Regions from separate parts of the Homo sapiens genome. Here regions 1 and 2 are each linked to region 3. Evidence: promoter capture Hi-C in 16 types of primary human blood cells and fetal thymus (Javierre and others, 2016). All regions are on one chromosome and are shown on one strand. Each heading gives the region's core, a stretch centred on a gene start or on the middle of the fragment in contact. The rest is flanking DNA. Distances are from core to core; before and after follow the strand shown.

The links. Contacts are between HindIII fragments. The CHiCAGO score rates a contact against its expected background, and 5 or more counts as called.
Region 1: a fragment that was not itself captured here is called in contact with the fragment with the promoter of TTC23 in region 3 in 5 of 17 cell types (total B cells, activated CD4 T cells, naive B cells and 2 more); the score reaches 11.6 in total B cells.
Region 2: a fragment that was not itself captured here is called in contact with the fragment with the promoter of TTC23 in region 3 in 1 of 17 cell types (total B cells); the score reaches 5.2 in total B cells.

What each region holds. Positions count from the first base shown.
Region 1 is chr15:99,817,502-99,821,521 of GRCh38, reverse strand. It overlaps the pseudogene LOC400464. Among named protein-coding and RNA genes, the nearest start is that of LYSMD4, 86 kb to the right of the region's middle. The HindIII fragment of the contact is 335 bases long and covers 1,476-1,810 here.
Region 2 is chr15:99,775,119-99,778,764 of GRCh38, reverse strand. No RefSeq gene overlaps it. Among named protein-coding and RNA genes, the nearest start is that of LYSMD4, 44 kb to the right of the region's middle. The HindIII fragment of the contact is 766 bases long and covers 1,144-1,909 here.
Region 3 is chr15:99,246,980-99,250,830 of GRCh38, reverse strand. It overlaps TTC23 (tetratricopeptide repeat domain 23), which reads left to right and starts at 1,250. Exons shown (of 14, transcript NM_001288615.3): 1 at 1,250-1,660. The HindIII fragment of the contact is 13,098 bases long and covers 1-3,851 here.

The DNA of each region.
Region 1 (4,020 bases), core at 394-2,893, 570 kb before region 3:
ACTCCCAGTAACAGGACCAGCAAATGCAAAGACCAGAGGAGAAAGACTGCTTTACTTAAGGGACAGCAAATAGGTCTCCCTGCTACAGCAGAGTAAATACAGTGGAAATGGTAGAAGAGTTTTTAGTTGTAAGGCAAGAAGGGGGACCAACCATGGAGAGTCTTAGATGTCATTGTGGAGATTTCCATTTTGCTGGAGGTGAAATGGAAGCCACTGAAGGCACTTGAAATGGAGGCTGATATGGTTCACAGCTTTAATAGTCTGCTGTCTGCTGAGATAAGAATTGACTATAGGACAAAGGGTAGATCTAGGTAGTGAGATGTTACTGCAGTCACCTAGGAAAGAGCTAGGATGATTTGAACTAGAGTGGTAGTAGTAAGAGGTGGTCATACTTTGAAAATATTTTTAAAGTAGAGTTGACAGGATTTGGTGATGAATTTGGCATGTGATGTGAGTCAAATTTCATAGCCTCAGCCAAACATCCCTATTTAATTACGTTTAATATAATGGAAAAGGTGGGGGAAATGGATTAAGAAAAGAAAGAAGTTTGGCATGGGAAACAGTAAGGTGAAGAAACCAGTCGGGATGTTAGATATCTAAATCTGAGTTCAGGAGTTTTGAATGCATACAAAATTTGATCGTTAGCATGGGGCTAGTATTTGAAACCATGAGACTGGACAAGATCATTTTAGTTTAGTGTATTTCCACAGATTATATTTCAAGCATCATGCTAGATACTTTAACGTTTGGCCATTTTAAAAGCCCACTGGTAAATTTCACAGGAATGAGGATTTGACTGACCTGTTTTTCTCAGCTGTCTGACCTCAGTAGGATGCATTATTGTATTGTATTTAATTCCCTATAAAATTCCAAAATATCAAAATAAGGCCTGTATTTATTAGCAGGATTTTTCAGATAGAACTATACTACTTAATTTCACAGAAATATCCTTCCCTGGGGTGATGATACTATTATATCACCAGTCATGAAGTCATGCTAACTTGTAGGCAACAATGGAGCTCACATTTTGATCTAAGCTAATTAGCATGCATTACTTAAATTATGAAAATGCACACTTTCAGGGGGCAGACAGATTTTATTAATTCTGAATTATGTCAAACTATCACTTAATAATTCTCAAGGGCCCAACTCTGGCAAAACCAGATGCTGCAGTGTATGTGTTTCCTATTCTCTTCCAACTTTTTTCATCATGTTTCATCAGCAAATGCTATGAAGTCTAATTAATTTAATTAATGGATCTCAGGGCCATTGGACAATGCATTTACATGAATTGCTCTGTGAAGGAGCTCTGTCTTGCTCTCTCTCTCTGCCCACCCTTTCTCCCCCGCTTTCTCTTTCAAGAGCAGAACATTTTGGTGAGCTCCAGTTAACTGGCTGAACTAAGCAGCGATCTCTTAGGTAATGATGCACTGCTAACAAACCTCAGCATAGACTATAACACTACCACTAAAGCTTCTGTTCATGTTGTTCTAGGGCTGATAAAATGGAATATTGTAATCTAGCTCTGAGGAAATTTGAGATTGTCTCATGTTTTCTCAGTTAAACCAGAAAATAATTAATTATAGGGAAGGGACAAGAACTGCCATGGCAGAGCCAGGCTGAGAAATAATTTCTGTTCACTCTCAATGTATTATCTGCTTTGTCCCTAGAGGCTCCCTTTTGTTACTCTTATATCAAAATCTCACTAAATTTTCCTGCCATCTCAACTCAAAAATCATACCTACAAAGAGCTAAAGTTTTATCTTTTTGCTTTTGCAAAAACTCTGTGCGAGCTATGAGAGTGTAAGCTTTATAGTTATATACAGATGTTTTTATTTATAATATTTCTCCTGCAAAACAGGATTAGAGAAAGTGAACCAAAAAGAACATGTAATAAGATGAATAATGAATAGAAAAATAAATTGCTCTAAAGACAAAGTAAAGGAAACTATAAAAGGGAGATGACTAGAACTATTTAGCAAGAAGAGACCTCATTCTTTCCATCAAATAGTGTGGTGTAATTTGCACAATGCACCCAATGGTTAATGAACACATATTTGTTGAGGATATCATTAATAAATAATACAACCAATGAAAAACTAATACAAAATATTTTTACTCTGCAGGAAGTAACTATTAGGTAGGTATTGTAAATTCTAACTTTAAAAGGTAGAGGAAAATATATATTGATCTGACTCATAAATTCAACAGGAAGACACAGAGTAACAATTACTGCAGGTGAATTTCAGCTCTCAGTCTATCTACCAACCAGTGTCACCAGGAACCTTCTTCAGACCCATGTATCCAACTGCGTATTTATCTTTTGCACCTGAATATCCCTCAGATATCTCCATTTAATTCATCTTCTTCCTCCAAACTGGACAGTATCCAAGCAGATCCAGAGAACTGTGAAGAGCTATTCTAGTCTCCGCCCTCTCCCCTGTTGCTGATCCAGTTAAGAGGGCCAAAGAATGTAGTTGAGAGGACATCAGCTCTGTATCTAGTAGCATTTAGTTTTAACCTCATCCCTTCACTTAAAATTGGCATGGCCTTCAGTAAGCGATTTAACTCCTCTGAATATCAACTGATAAAAGTAAAAATAAAAAAATTTACAAAATTAATTGTAGTGAGGATTAAAATATCATGTTTGGTACATCATGAGCTCTCGATAAACAGTTGTAGTATTGTTATTCAAACTGGTACACAGGCCTATCACTTCTCTTTCCTTTTAGATCTGTTTTTTTTTTTTTTCCTTCTGTTCTCACCTCTGAATGTCCCAACCCAATCTCTCTTCCTCTATCACCTTTTTAGGAAATCCATCCCCACCCCACTCACCCCACCACTCCTCACACTCCTTTCTCTCCTACCCTGGCCTCCACCACAGCTCCTCCATCCCCACCTGTAATCCAGCCTCTAAACCACTATCAGGGCTGCGGTTCTGAAGTGCAAATCTCATCATGTTGTACCTTATAATATCTTTGAATGACACCTATTTGTCTCATGATAAATTCTAAACTCTTTAGTTTTATGTGGACCATGACCATTTTTTATCTGACCCTGTCTGTCTCTCCCTAATTCTCATTTCTCTCCACCAAATACTCCACCCTTGTACTGAACAACGTGCCTCTACTTTCATCTCTTCATACTTATATTTTTTCCTTGATCCTTAACTTTGCTCACAATGTTCCTGCCATCTGGAATAGCATTTTCCCTACTGGCCTGGAAAATTTGACTATTCCTTTGTGGCGGAATTCAGTTTTCACTCCCCCGTGAGTGACCTTCTTAGGACAAATTGACAGTATCTTATATTGTAGTCCCACAGTCCAATAGGCAGTCTTCAAGTGTCCAATATGACAGTGCATGATATTTGTTGTTTATATGCCTATTTCCCCCACTGGCTTTGAGAAACTTGAGAGATTGTTGTAACCATTTGTATCTACAGTGTCTAGCAGAGCATGCATCTATTTGTGTTTTGAATGAGTGAGTGAATTAATGAATGATGAGAAAGCAATGACCTATGTTTTCTCTCTACCTCTTACACGAGATTATAAATAGACTGATTCAACTGAAGATTCCAGGTCCTATTCCTTTTGCTGTTGTTATCGTATACGTTAGCAAAAAGCTTCATCCTTTCCAAAAATTTCTTCAGTGGTAGCAATAAATTCAGTGTCTTCTGGAAGCAACATTGTGCTCTCTTTCTCTCTCTCTCTCTGATTTGCCTATTGCTACTTTGCATAGTATGTGTTTATGACTTTATCATTCGTTACAGTACATGTAATAGGAGCCCTGCTATTTCTTCATAAGTGGTTATGAAAAAATATTCATACTTGCTTATGTTTTGTGAACATCTATATGTGGTGGAGCATATGTTATTATAATCTTACTTTAAGTGGAAATACAGTTTAAAGGATTTTCTCTTACTGTTCTTAATGTAAAGCTTCTAAATTAGATATACAAAAGCGCTCATCTAGAAGCTAATGGAACCACAAGCAAAACACAGAAAAAGGCTTACCGAGAACA
Region 2 (3,646 bases), core at 277-2,776, 530 kb before region 3:
TATATCCCCCTTTCCAGAATTAGGCTGCATGACCACTCTGAACCAACCACAAACAAAAAGAATTCAATTGTCATGGCACTGTTCAATTAGACAATCACAGTTCACCCCTTGGAGCTGAGACAGGGTATCATTTCCTTTCTAAGATCTACTGAACTCTCATTAGCTGGAAAAAAAATCAAATCCTACTGGAATAGAAGAAGGGGGTTGAAGACAAGTGGATTTTTAATACCTAGCTGATGTTGGGAGGCTAAGTATAAAAAGATATTCTGATGTTGGGTGTGTAGCAGATTGTGCCTGACACACTGCCCCATATTCTTTCCACTAACAAGTCTCATTGTTTTCTTTCAAAAATACATTTCAAATTTGTCTTATATCCACATGTCCACAACCACCATTCTCTTTTAATCTAACAACATCCCTCTTTTGAATTACTTAAATGACCAGTTAATTCACCTCCTAGAAACTGTTTTGCTTCCCACTCACCCTTATCTTATTTTTTTCCATTAGGCAGCCAGAAGAAACTCCTAAAAAATTAACTTATCCATTCTCTGCTTTTTATATTACCTAACCACTTCTTGTTGAAGTTAGGATTAAGCTCAAAATCCTTAAGTGAATTACCTCTTTTCCAACATTGCTGGAAGAGTAAAAGGTTCCTTAACAACATTCTTCTTTCCAGTTTTGGCCAGGTTTTTTTTCCCCCTGAAGTACCACTTTTTATATAATTAAAATTCAGTTTATGCACCAATTTGAATGAATACTTGATAAATGTCTCTACTTCTAAATTATAACTTCCATTAGAGCGGAAGTCAGGTACACTTTTACCCACTATTGTATTGCACTTAAACTAGAACTGCTGCTGAGTGAGTGAAAAATTAATCAATAAAACAAGAGCAAACAGTTCTCATCCTCAAGAACATTCTAATTCAGTAGGAAGAAAGAATGAGTAACTACAGTTGTGCCTAGCTTAATGATGGGGATACTGTATTAGTCTGTTCTCACGCTGCTAATAAAGATATATCTGAGACTGGGTAATTTATAAAGGAAAGAGGTTTAATGGACTCATAGTTCCACATGTTTGGGGAGGCCTCACAATCATGGCAGAAGGCAAAGGCACATCTTACATGGCAGCAGGCAAGAGAAGCTTTTGCAGGGGAACTCCCATTTACAAAACCACCAGATCTCCTGAGACTTATTTACTATCACAAGAATAGTATGGGGGAAACCTCCCTCATGATTCCATTATCTCCACCTGGCCCTGCCTTTGGCTTGTGGGGATTATTACAATTCAAGGTGAGATTTGGGTGAGGACACAGCCCAACCATACCAGACACATTGTGAGAAATGCATGTTTCTGTGATTTCATAATTGTGTGAACATCATGGGCAGACTTACACCAACCTAGATGATATACAGGCCGCTCCCCACCTAAGGCTCCATGGTGGAGCCTTTTGTCCTCAGGCTACAAACCTGTATGGCAGGTTACTGTACTGAATAGTGTAGGCAACTGTAACACAATGGTAAGTATTTGTGTCTCTAAATATAGAGAAGATACTGCAAAAATACAGTGTAAAAGATAAAAAATGGTACCTTATAGGGAAATTACCATGAATGGAGTTTTCAGGCCAAAAAGTTGCTGTGGGTGAGTCAGTGAGTGGTGAGTGAACGTGAAGGCCTAGAACACTATTGTATACTACTGCAGACTTTATAAATACTGTACACTTAGAATACCCTACAATTATTGAAAATATTTCTTTTTCTTTAATAATAAATTTACCTTAGCTTACTGTAACTTTTTACTTTATAATTTTGTTTTTTTAAACATTTTGACTCTTCTATAATAAATGTAGCTTAAAACACATTGTACTGTTATACACGATTTTTTTGTTGTTATATTCTTATTCTATAAGCTTTTATCTACTTTTTTTTTTTTTGAGGTGGAGTCTCTCTGTTGCCGAGGCTGGATGGCAGTGGCACGTTCTCGGCTCACCGCAAGCTCCGCCTCCCGAGTTCATGCAGTTTTCCTGCCTCAGCCTCCAGAGTAGCTGGGACCACAGGCGCCCACCACCACGCCCGGCTAATTTTTTTGTTTTTGTGTTTTTAGTAGAGACGGGGTTTCACCGTGTTAGCCAGGATGGTCTGGATCTCCTGACCTCGTGATCTGCCCGCCTCGGCCTCTCAAAGTGCTGGGATTACAGGCGTGAGCCCCCGCACCAGGCCACGTCTTTAAAAAAAAAAACATTAGCCGGGCGTGGTGGGGACGCCTGTAATCCCCGCTACTCGGGAGGCCGAGGCGGGCGGATCACAAGGTCAGGAGATCGAGACCATCCTGGCTAACACGGTGAAACCCTGTCTCTACTAAAAAATACAAAAAATTAGCCAGGCGTGGTGGCGGGCACCTGTAGTCCCAGCTACTCGGGAGGCTGAGGCAGGAGAAGGGCGTGAACCCGGGAGGCGGAGCTCGCAGTGAGCCGAGATCGCACCACCGCACTCCAGCCTGGGCGACAGAGCGAGACTCCGTCTCAAAAACAAACAAGCAAACAAAGAAACAAACTTAGTGAAACAAAAATTCATCCCCAAAACTATTTACTTGAAAAACACTAGTAAATAAATAATAAATTGTTTTTCAAATATAAACAAGACAGAAATAAAGGAGATGCTATTACTATGAGGAAAGAGGAAAATGATACAACTAAAGATAAAATAGATAAAACATTATATAAAATGTTAAATAAAATTTTATTCATATACATTTGAAAATTTGATAGATTATATATATTTGATAAGTCAATAAAATTAATGTATATGTGTATATGAAGTTACAAGGCAAAGTAATTTGAATAGATGAGATCTGTTAAATCTACAATTAATGGATAATTTTTTGTTTTCTTTACAACTTCATAACCTCCTGTAAGTTTTTAGAAAGTTTATTTTTTCTCTATGTTCTGGCACTGTTTAAAATCCAGAAGTGGGAAATAGGGAGTTACTGCTAATTGGTACAAGGTTTATTTTTTAAGACTATAAAAATATTCTAAAAATAGATTATGGTGGTATTTGCACAACTGTATTAACATACTAAAAACATGAAATGGTACACTAAACATGTGAACATCATGGAATGTAAATTATATCCCAATAAAACTGAAAGAAGATACATACACATTATCTGTCTCTACCAAATTCTCACTATGAACATATATGTAAATACTAGATAGTACTACCAACTCAACAGCAGCAATTTATTGATAGAATAAGACATCCTGACTAAATAGAGTTTATCTCAGGAAAGCAAGCAATGATGAACTTTAGAAATCCTCATGGAAATATACTTAAAACAATATTTAAATGATATTCTGAAAGATATCTAAAATTACTTAGCAAAAGCAAATGTAAATGTCCATTCTTTATTTGATAATGAAACATTTAACTCAATTTAGAATAAAAGGAAATGACTTAATCTTATAAACATATGCAGCAAAAACCTACTTAATTAAAAAAAGGACAAATTTTAATAAAGTCAGAAATGAAGAAATGATTTACCATTACCATTGAAAATGTCCTCTGTTTATACAAATACAATTATATAATGTAATTATATATCTTACATTACATATATAATGTAACTATATCTTACATTACATATATAATG
Region 3 (3,851 bases), core at 1-2,500:
AAGATGAGGAGGACGTAACCTAGTCTCTGCCCTTCAAACACCCAAGGTTTATTTTGAGTAAAGATTGCTAAAAAGGTCAGGAACAATTTAGAGAGTTAAATACAATGACACTTCCTAGCCTGACTGAGTAGGCCGTCAATATGTATTTCTTCAAGACGAAAATTATTATGTCAGCGAAATAGCATGAAAGAGGGCTTTATGCTGTTAAAAATACTTGGAAGCATAGTTCGGAAACATTTTTAAAAGACACTTTTTAAAGTGTCTCATTAATATGACAAATTTCCTTCTGAAATGAAGATTTTAAAGTATAATCCTCTACTACAACCGCTGATATTTTTTGTTCTGTGGAAAGCCTGTCTATGAGTTTGCGAGGCTCCTTGTCAAGGAACTTTAACTTTATAATGAAGTAGTTTTTACAGTTGCTGACTTAATTATTCATAGAGACGAATAACCTAGAAAGCAGAGTTATATTAAATAAAAAACATTGGTTTTAAAACAAGGTATGAGTTATAATAAAAATTATCAGTTATCTATTAAATCTGGTCTTCAAGAGCTATTCAGGTATACAGCATGGTTGGTATATGTCATGTATTTCTAAGATAGTTTCGGAATACCTAAGAATTCGTGGCACTCAGAAATTTTTTGCTGGTCTTAAAATGAGGAAATCCACATTTTGTGTAAAAACAAAGATACGGTGTTTAATGGTCAGCCCAAATAATAAGACTTGCTGCTAATATATGAAGAGTTACACCCCCCAAAAAAGAAAAAAGATTAACAGTAGAACAGTTTTTTGAAAACAATGTTAGCCTCTTAGTTTTCATTTCTTTTTTTTAATGGGGAATACTGTTTTTCAGTGATTAATATCTGATATTTGATCATGAAAAATGAATCATGTTAAAATAACCTTCACCTCCTCCCCACATTGACACAAAAGTTACCAAGTGATTATATTTGATAATACTTTATGACCCCACTCTTGAAGTTCTCACAATTTGTAGAGAATCAATTCGCACGTTTTGTCTCTCTTAAAGGGGAAAAAAATCCTCTAAGCTGGTGATTTCACGTTCTTTGACAAACTTCAATATCAACAGGCAACGATACCACTTTAAGAAAATTCCAAGGAAAAGACCTCATTTTAAAATTCCCACCTCTGGCTCCCAAAGATTGGTTTGCAAACTTCGACAAAATACTCTTCTCCACTCGCTATTGGTGAGTGCTCTATCATTCATTCTTTTGCCTGGAGTTTTGTGAGGTACCCGCTTGCTTTATGGGAAAAGGCTGCTCCGGAACTGCCCTACTTTAGACTTTTTCATGGTTATCAATCTGTACAAAGAATCACCAAACTGATAAAGCAGGAACCAGAGGGCAAATCACGCTGCCAAGACAACTGTGTAATTCGCTCGAAAAAGAAACGGTGAGCCTCTCCAGCAGACTGGGTAAACTGGCAAGGGATTTTACGACATAGTTGGAGATTGGAGAGTTACAGAAACTTTTCCGGTTTTTTACAAGTTTTAAAGGAGTGATTGAGTGTCAAAGGAAAAGCAGAGAAAATACAGGCACAATTTAAAGACAGCAGGAAGAAGAGTGTTCAGAGAGCATTTTTCTCTTTAGGGTGAAGTTTGAAAGCATCATGCCCAGATTATCAGTGGATTTTTGAAAGGTAAAGGAGGCAAGATAATAAGATTAACTATAGATCATTTTCTACTTTAAGAAACTGTGCTTCGTTATTGTTGCTTAAGTGTGGATTTAGAAGGACATTTAGTAATATTGTAATTTTTATATGGATATTTTTGTTTATATATTGTCATACCTGGCATAATAGATAATATATCTATTAAAAGATATAGGAGAAAATAGAGTTGCTTGAACCCAAATTTTGTGTATATTTGTGGATTAGGGATTCCAGGGACAGATCTGCTAATGGCTGAACAAAACATACTACAGATACCTGAAGCAGAATCAGCATGTAAGGGTAAATTCTCAAAAAAATCCAGCAATCATATTTCAAAAATGACATTTTTAATTAAAACAAATACAAAAGAATTTATCAAGGAAACGTTGATGAACATGACTATTTCTTAAGTTGCCTGTGTTAATCCATATAGGGGAATATAAAGTAATAAAATCCAGCCCCTCAAGAGCAGGGACAAATGAGGCTCAGAACATTTAAACTAAAACTTCTGAACAGTTCTTAATGCCCGGATGACTGTTGTAGAGCACAGGTGCTTCAGGAGCTCAGCTCAATGTGAGATGAATTATTCAGAGAAGGCTTCACAGTATGGGTAAGACTCAATTTGGGCCTGAGCAATGGGCAGAATTTCAGAGAGAAAAATAAGGGAAGTGGCATCCCTACTAGTGAGTGAGTTGTTAGCAAATACATGCAGCCTGAGGAAGAGTTGGTTCTGACTGCGGCAGAAGGTTCATTTGGAAACTTTGGTTACAAATTTTAAAAAGCAGCATGAGAAATATAAAGAGCCGGAATTCCCAAAATCAGGGGTTTGGGTCCTGTGTTTGGAACAGGAGGCACCCCTTATGAAAGTAATATTTGAAGACAATAAAACTGACAGTGGAATTTAAGATGGCTAGACCAGAGCAGAGACCAGAAGCTAAGGGGCCCCATGCTGTGTAAATACTGGCACACAGGTTAGTAACCATGCTTCTTACCCGAATACATTTACCTTATCATTGTTGAATAATATAAATTTTGATGCACTTCTTTGTAGTCTTCGAAAGCATTGAGTTTACTTCTTTAAGATTTTTGGGGACCGCTGCCACACTGTCTTGGGGAGTCATGGTTGCCCCGTCTTTATAAAAGTCTTGTCATAATATGTATAAAAACCAGAATTACACATAAAACTGCGTTGTGGTTTCATAGCTATTTTTAACAGCTTTAATGAAGTATAATTTATATATTATAAAGTTCATTTGTCTTAAGGATATAACTCAATGATTGTTTTAGAAAATCACAACCATCACCACATTCCAATTTTAGAAAATTTTCATCATCCTAGAAAATTTAGAAAATTTTCATCATCCTAGAAAATTTAGAAAATTTTCATCATCCTAGAAAATTTAGAAAATTTTCATCATCCTAAAAAAATACTTTGTGCCCATTTGCAGGCAAGTCCTGGTTTCCTATCCCCAGCCCCAATCACTAAAAAACTTTCTGTCTATAAATTTACCTTTTCTGGGCATGTAAGTGGAATTACACATTATGCGATCCTTTGCATCTAGTTTCTTTTACTTAGCATAATGTTTTTGAGGTTCATCCATGTTGTAGTATGTCTCATTACTTCATTCCTTTTTATTGCTAAGTAATAATCCACATTTTATTTAACAGTACCAATTAACAGACATTTGGATTTCTTCTAGTATTTAAATATAGTGTTTAATTGTACTAATTGTAATTGTATTACAGTAAATACAGTACAGTATTTAGCATTATGAATAATGCTGCTATGAAGATGGGTACAAGTTTTTGTATGAACGTGTGTTTTCAGTTTTCTTGGGTGTATATCTACGAGTGGAATTACTGTCATATGGTAACTCTGGGTGTAACTTTTCAAGGTGTTGCACAACTGCTTTCCAAGGTGAATTTCCCATTTTACATTTCCACCAGAGTGTATGAGGGTTCCAATTTGTCCACATCCTCACCAACACTCCTTATGATCTGTCTTATTCATTGTAGTCATTCAGCTGGATTTTAAGTGGTATCTTATTACAGCTTTCATTTGCATTTTCCTGATGACTGACGATATGAAGCATCTTTTCATGTGCTTGTTGACTATCCATATATCTTCTTTTGTAAAATGTCTTTCAAATATTTTGCCTATTTTTTTAATTGAGTTGTC